Regions from separate parts of the Homo sapiens genome. Here region 2 is linked to region 1. The links are contacts of gene promoters, found by promoter capture Hi-C in human tissues and cell types (Jung and others, 2019). All regions are on one chromosome and are shown on one strand. The core of a region is centred on a gene start or on the middle of the fragment in contact, and the rest is flanking DNA. Distances in the headings are between cores, read along the strand shown. Region 1 holds the start of ERV3-1 (endogenous retrovirus group 3 member 1, envelope). Region 2 overlaps LINC02848 (long intergenic non-protein coding RNA 2848).

Evidence for each region. Contacts are between HindIII fragments. The study calls those that stand out against the background at their distance.
Region 2: a contact is called between a fragment that was not itself captured here and the fragment with the promoter of ERV3-1 in region 1, in 1 of the 25 tissues and cell types used here (dorsolateral prefrontal cortex).

What each region holds. Positions count from the first base shown.
Region 1 is chr7:65,004,464-65,007,936 of GRCh38, forward strand. ERV3-1 (endogenous retrovirus group 3 member 1, envelope) reads right to left here and starts at 2,224. Exons shown (of 2, transcript NM_001007253.4): 1 at 2,078-2,224. ERV3-1-ZNF117 (ERV3-1-ZNF117 readthrough) reads right to left here and starts at 2,283. Exons shown (of 4, transcript NM_001348050.2): 1 at 2,078-2,283. RefSeq lists an enhancer at 2,155-2,214 and a silencer at 2,315-2,484. The HindIII fragment of the contact is 15,538 bases long and covers 1-3,473 here.
Region 2 is chr7:63,908,942-63,912,414 of GRCh38, forward strand. The region is part of intron 5 of LINC02848 (long intergenic non-protein coding RNA 2848); the gene reads left to right. It also overlaps the pseudogene NMD3P1. Among named protein-coding and RNA genes, the nearest start is that of LINC02848, 11 kb to the left of the region's middle. The HindIII fragment of the contact is 3,533 bases long and covers 1-3,282 here.

The sequences.
Region 1 (3,473 bases), core at 974-3,473:
AGAGTCTTCCTTAAATGAGTATTCTTAAGAATGGAATATAGGATTAGATATTTATTTTCTTCTGAGCCCCACCTCTTTTATGCCCTTTGTAAATATTTTCTTACCTTTTAAGCCCTACTAATAAAATGCAAGTTACAGTTAAAAAACTGTAGTCAAAATAAGTGAACAAACCTTTTCAAGGTGACAAACCCAGGGAGCTACGGTGCTCATTAAAAAACAGATGTGTTTGACTCATATGTCAAGTCAGGCCACCCAATCCCTTGAGAGATTCTCCCACCCCCATCCTGCTCACTTAAGTGCTCAGTGACCACCCTCTCCAGAGACACTGTACTAGGCCCCATTGAGTGCCCCAAGGTGCATTTCACTTTGCAAGTTGCTGCACCATCTCACTGGGGCCAGGTTTGATTTTTTTTTTTTTTTTTTTTTTGTCTTTTGGGATACTATTTTCTCTTTCATAATTCTTGGAGAATCCAGGTGGCAGTAATTATTTGTTTTTCCCTCATTACCACCATCTGATTGGCTGACCAGCAATGTGTCTTCGAGAAATGGAACCCGGGTTGCTTGAAGACAATCTTAACTTCTCTAAGGGTTTGCTTTTCAAAGGAAGAGTACCCCAGGAGACTCCTCTCAGCCTCAGGGCATCCACCTGCTCCCTTGAGAGGCTACACTCCAACTTCAGGCTGTCCTGTCTCCCATTCCCAGATATGCGAAGTTTCATTCCAGGCCAGGAGCTGAAATTTACTAGACATTGTAGCATACACAGCCACAGTGGATATCTTGATTTATCCCCAGACAGTACTGAAACCCAGAACCAGGGAAAAAACTGAAGGGTGGCTGAGGACACATTACCTTATAAAGTTTCCAAAGGGAAACCCTGACCCAAAAATATTCTGATAAGGTTTCTGTGGCTAGAGGCAATAAAAGGAAAGGAGGCACAGAACATTTTTTACAATACAGTGTCAGGGGATTATTCTTTGCTTTCTTCTCTTGGGAAATCTTTACAAACAGAAAACAAATCTTTTTTAAAATGCCAGCCAATGCTTTGTCAAAAAATGATTAATTAAAATATGGTACCTAAAATGTACACTAAAGTGTACATTAAAGGACAAATAGTTGATAATGTGAATTAGGGAGGGGAAATTGGCATTTGGGAATGTCAGAAGGAACTGGAAATTTAGTATTTTACTGCAAGCCAGAGTTAGGCTGGAGGAATGGGAAATGGGGAGAAGTCTTGAGACCCTGCTTGAGACAGAAGTGAAAAATGCAGAGGAAAATCAGTGCCCTGTGGAGTGTGAAAATAATTAAGTGGCAGGCAATTAGACTGAGGTGGCTCCAGTCCTAGGGTTGCTACTTGCAAAAAAATCTAACTCGAATGATTTTTTTCTAAAGTATTACATTGGGGGAAAATAAAATTCAGGCTTAACCAACTATAAACTGCCAATTAACCTCTCATTACATGACCAGGGAATTTCCACCTTGATCGTACAAATTAAGAAACTACATAACTTTACCTAACCAATTATTGAATTTGCTTTCCTTTATCATGCACTTTATAAAAGTGTTTTCTTCAAGCCCCTTCCATAAACCACAAACTACAAAACATAGCTTGGTGCTCTACAATTCTTGAATTACTCTTTAATTAAATTCTTTAATATTTCTGCGGAGACTTCCACAAATTTTTAATAGAAAAAAAGGGGGACTGGGAACCCCGCAGACCAAAGCTCTTCCCATTCATGAACTCTGCATCCTGAGTCAGTATTCTCCCCTGACGACCGTCCAGTGGTCCCTGCACAATCGGGGAGAGCTGCGGCAGTGGGGGCAGAGCTGCCCACAGAGGACTCCAGAACAAGGCACAGTCACTGCGCAGGGAGGAGACAGGATGCCCGGGGTCCGAGCTGTCAGCCCGGCCGCCATCCTATGGCTGAAGGGGACTGAGGGCCGAGCTGCGCCAAGGAGAACTCGGGGCCGCGGATTTTGGAGCCAGCTGCGGGGAGGCCAGAGTCCCGCCACAGCCACTTCCCACCAGTTCCAACCAGCCCCGCCCCCTCTCTCGGGATGTCGGACCCGGCACTCTCACCATTTCTAGGCTTCCAGTGGGTCCTGGCGTCTTAGCTGTGGATCTCCCAATACCTGCAGGTAACGAGGCCACAGAAGCTGGGCCTCTAGGAGCAGAAGACACAGAGCAGTGAAGACTACACCAGAAGCTCCGGCTGCCGCCAGAGACAAAGGCCCCACCAAACCCGGAAGCCGTCCTGTCTGCTCCAGCTGAGTGCCTGATTGGACGGGTCCCAGCCCAGCGTCCCTGATTGGATAATGTTTAGGGCCCCACCCTCTCAGGCCTTGATTGACAGAAGACGTGCTCAGATGCTGGGCTGAATGTAGAGTGAACCCTAAGCCTTTTCAGGCAGAGCTTCCTCCCTGAGCTGACCCAGGCCCTCCCCAGACGGCATTTGCCTTGTAAGGCAACCGTCTGAAATAAAATGTGAGCCATGTGTGAATTCTAAATTTTCTAGTAGTTAAGAAGAAAGAAGAAACAGGTGAAATTCATTCTAACCATTTAATAACCCAATATATCCAAAATATTATTTTAGTATAGGAGCAATATGTAATTATTAATGTAGTGTATATATTCTTGGAACTAAATCTTTAAATCTAACCCTGTATTTTACCTTTCTAGCACATCGCAGTTCAGACCAGCCATATTCCAGCTATCCTGTAGCCACACATGGCCAATAGCCACCACATTGAAGTGCAGCTCTGATTTCATACTTCCTCTCTCTCTCTCCTCAAACCTCCTGTGCTTCCTTCCCTCCCTCCCTTCTGCTAAGCTGATGCTCACTTCTCCAACGTTACTAGAAGCCCTCAGAGTGAATGTTCTTATCTTCCCACCATCCACCGACTGTGTCTCTGTTCCTTCCACTGTCACTGTGTAATAATTGCCCTTCTGCGGCTGGGCATGGTGGCTCATGCCTGTAATCCCAGCACTTTGGGAGGCTGAGGTGGGAGGACTGCTTGAAGCCAGGAGCTTGAGACCAGCCTGGGCAACATAGTGAGACTCCATCTCTACAAAAAAGTTTAAAAATTAGCCATGGGCTGGGTACGGTGGCTCACGCCTGTAATCTCAGCACTTTGGGAGGCTGAGGTGGGCGGATCACCTGAGGTCAGGAGTTCAAGACCAGCCTGGCCAACATGGTGAAACCCTGTCTCTATAAAAATACAAAAATTAGCTGGGCCTGGTGGCGTGCACCTGTAATTCCAGCTACTTGGGAGGCTGAGGCAGGAGGGTCACTTGAACCCAGGAGGTGGAGGTTGCAGTGAGCCAAGAACGCACCATTGCACTCCAGCCTGGGTGACAGAGCGAGACTGTGTCTCAAAAATAAAAATAAAAGTTAGCAAGGCGTGTTGGTGTGCACCTGTGGTCCCAGCTACTCAGGAGGCTGAGCTGGGAGGATAACTTGAGCTCACGAGTTCAA
Region 2 (3,473 bases), core at 266-2,765, 1.1 Mb before region 1:
ACAGTCTACAACATCTCATTATATCATCATTGACGCACCTTCTTCACCAGTGGCATCGTGGGAAATATGAAAGTCTTCAGGCATCTCAGCCAGACTAATTCCAGGTGCTCCTTCATCATCATCACTTTCCACAGGGATGGTTGACTCTCTGTAAATGTTGACATTTTTTCTAATTGCCTCATCTTCTTCAAGATCTTCAAGAAAATCTTGGTATTGCCTTTCATCATCTGTATCCATGTTCTCTCTCCTGCAAGCTCTTTCAGTTTCCAGTTTCTACATCACTGATGTTTGGTCCAGTCTTAGTTCTTCTTGATTAATACCACATCTGGAACTCTATCTGAGTTCATTTTGTTGCCATGCTCATCATTTAAATTGCAGCTGGCCAAATCAAACCCTAACACCAGCTCTCCAGGATTTAGAAGATGTCCCAAATGAGTATGACAAAAATACTGTTTATCTGTATTCATTTCAGATGTCTTCTGTACCCAGACTTCCCTGAGGGTATGCTTTTTTGATATCATTCCAGCATCTGCACCGTGTTTTATATTTCGGACTATGCTGCATTTCATCACAATAAATTCCTCTAGCTGTTTGGGGTGACATAAACTACTGAAAGAGTGACTCCAGAAAGTGCTGCCATCAATATCTGCAACTTGTAGGGTGTTTGGATCAATGAGGTGAATGGCACTGGTTATTCGAATACACACACAAATCTGGTTCATATTTCCCAGGCTTTGTGTCAGTTTTGGAGACAGACAGACAACATAATCCTGGCATATTGGAACAATTTCCACAGAAAAAGTGCTTTTGTAATTGTATGTATTACTATGGACATCCTGAGAGATCAGTCTTTGGGATGCGTTGTATCTACAGGGAACTGTATACTGAATAAATTCGACCATCTTCTGAGCATGTGGTTTTGAGGAATAATAAAAATCCAGACCATCATGAATCTCTTTGATACGAAGTGTATTCTGATGCCTTCCATATTTCAGAATTAACTGTTCCAGATAGTAGAAAGCTTTTTTGTGCAAAGTCTTTTGCCTCACTTGAATCACAGCCCTCCAGAAACCCTTAGCTTCTACTCTATGGCAATCTCCACATATTTGGGACTGAACAGCATAATCCACCACAAACACTTGTTGAAGGACAGCACCATTCATCACCTCTTTCTGGAGTCAGTTTAACTTTAAATCTCTTAGAATGGGGCTCAGTCCAAACAAAGCCTGCATTCACAAGCCGTTCCTTACTCAGAGGGGCTTTGAACACAAAGCAAGAAGTTCCCTGGATTCTAAAGCACACCGTATCCAAGTTCCTGGTGGCTGAAAATACCTTTGACATTGTTTGTAGAACAAAAGTGAGACTTGTTTTGGAATATCTTGGCTGATGCCCACTTTACTTTGCAAACAGGCCACACAAATATTGGCAGGATTGGGACTTATTGCAATACCACACTCACAGCACAGGATGAGTCCAGGGCTGCGGTCAGTCGATTCTGTCATATACTCCATTGTTCTGTATGCTTCACACCTCCAGACCAGCCCTGGATTTGCTGAAAACCTGCAACAAAATAGACCCCGGCTGTCCTGTCAGCTGCCACCATGGCCATCTTCACCACAGCGAAGATCTCACGAAGTGGTTGTTTTTTATGGTTTCTATTTATCTATTAAAATAATTTTTTAAATATAGGTGGGGTCTTGCTCTATTGGCCAGGTTGGTCTTAAACTCTTGGTCCCAAGCAATTCTCCAGCCTCAGCCTCCCAAATTGCAGTTAGCACAGGTGTAAGCCAACATGATCAGCCTATTTATTATAATTCTCATTTTGTTTCTGTGTCATTTCATAACATTTTTAGTTATCTATTGGTGTTCTTTTGGATTTTATTGAAATCTCTTGATGATTATTTTTAATTCTATGTTGGCCAATTCTGAGATCTCCATTTCTTTGCAGATTTTTACTAGAGCTTTATTAGTTTCTTTGGGTGATGTTCATGATTTTCAGATTCTTTAAGATCTGTGCAGGCTTATGTCTGTGTCCCTGAATATGAAGGAGTAAACACATCTTCCACTAATCATAGGAGAGTTTTGAAAGATAAATACTTTCTCCTATTGGGTCCCTGGGCTGATGAGATTTTAATTGACATTGCAGTTGAGTTTGTTGGAGCCAGGTCACATAATTGCTACTTGGTCTTTAGTGGGTTTCGTGGTTGGCAGACCCGTTATTAACACATAAGACAGTTATAAATTCTGTCTGTTCCCTGGAAGAGTCAACTTTCTTTTTTTTTTTGAGACGGAGTCTCGCTCTTTTGCCCAGGCTGGAGTGCAATGGCACTATCTCGGCTCACTGCAAGCTCCGCCTCCAGGTTCACGCCATTCTCCTGCCTCAGCCTCCTGAGTAGCTAGGACTACAGGCGCCCGCCACCGCGCCCGGCTAATTTTTTGTATTTTTAGTAGAGAAGGGGTTTCACCGTGTTAGCCAAGATGGTCTTGATCTCCTGACCTCGTGATCCGCCCGCCTCGGCCTCCCAAAGTGCTGGGATTACAGGCGTGAGCCACCGCGCCCGGCCAAGAGTCAACCTTCTTTAGAATATCGATTATCAGGACTAGTGCTGAGATAAGAAATTGCAGTTGTTTCTGCATATGGGGTGCTGGTAGAATAGATGTAGACAGGTGTGGCTCCCACTAGGTCTCTGGGAGTGCGCTAATCCAGTTATTAGACAGCTTACTGGATGGGCAGTACTGACCCCTAATCAAAGCTGAGAGCCATGGGAACTAATTTATAGGGCTGCTTCAGGATACACGAGTGAGGCTAAATTCTTCAGTTCTGTCTCTGGGTCCATGGTGTATTTCCCTCCAGGTTTCTGGGTGGGTAGGACTGCTCCCAGACACTGGCTGACTGGGATTAGAACTGGGTTACAGGGCTGCTTTAAGATTCACAGTGAGACTGATGTCAGCAGGCCTGCCTAGAGGGGCACTGATTTATGATTTTAGGCAAATCTCAGGTTGAGCAAAACTGCTTTTGAACTGTGCCTGCATGAAACTAGAGCCCAGCGCCGTTTCTGTTTTCTTTTCTTTTCTTTTTCTTTCTTTTTTTTTTTTTTTTTTTTTTTTTTTTTTTGACAGTCTTGCTCTGTTACTCAGGCTGCAGTGCAGTGGTGGGATTTCGGCTCACTGCAAACTCTGCCTCCTGGGTTCAAGTGATTCTCCTGTCTCAGCCTCCCGAGTATCTTGGACTGCAGGTGCCCGCCACCACCCTGGCTAATTTTTTGTATTTTTAGTAGACACAGAGTTTGACCATATTGGTTAGGCTGGTCGAACTCCTGACCTCAGGTGATCCACCCACCTCAGCCTCCCAAAGTGCTGGGATTACAGGTTTAAGCCACTGTGCCCAGCCCAACCATTTCATGATCCACATTCAGTTCAATATTGATTGTCCTACATCCAAGGAAATAGATGGATGTTTTTCCCTGAGGGTC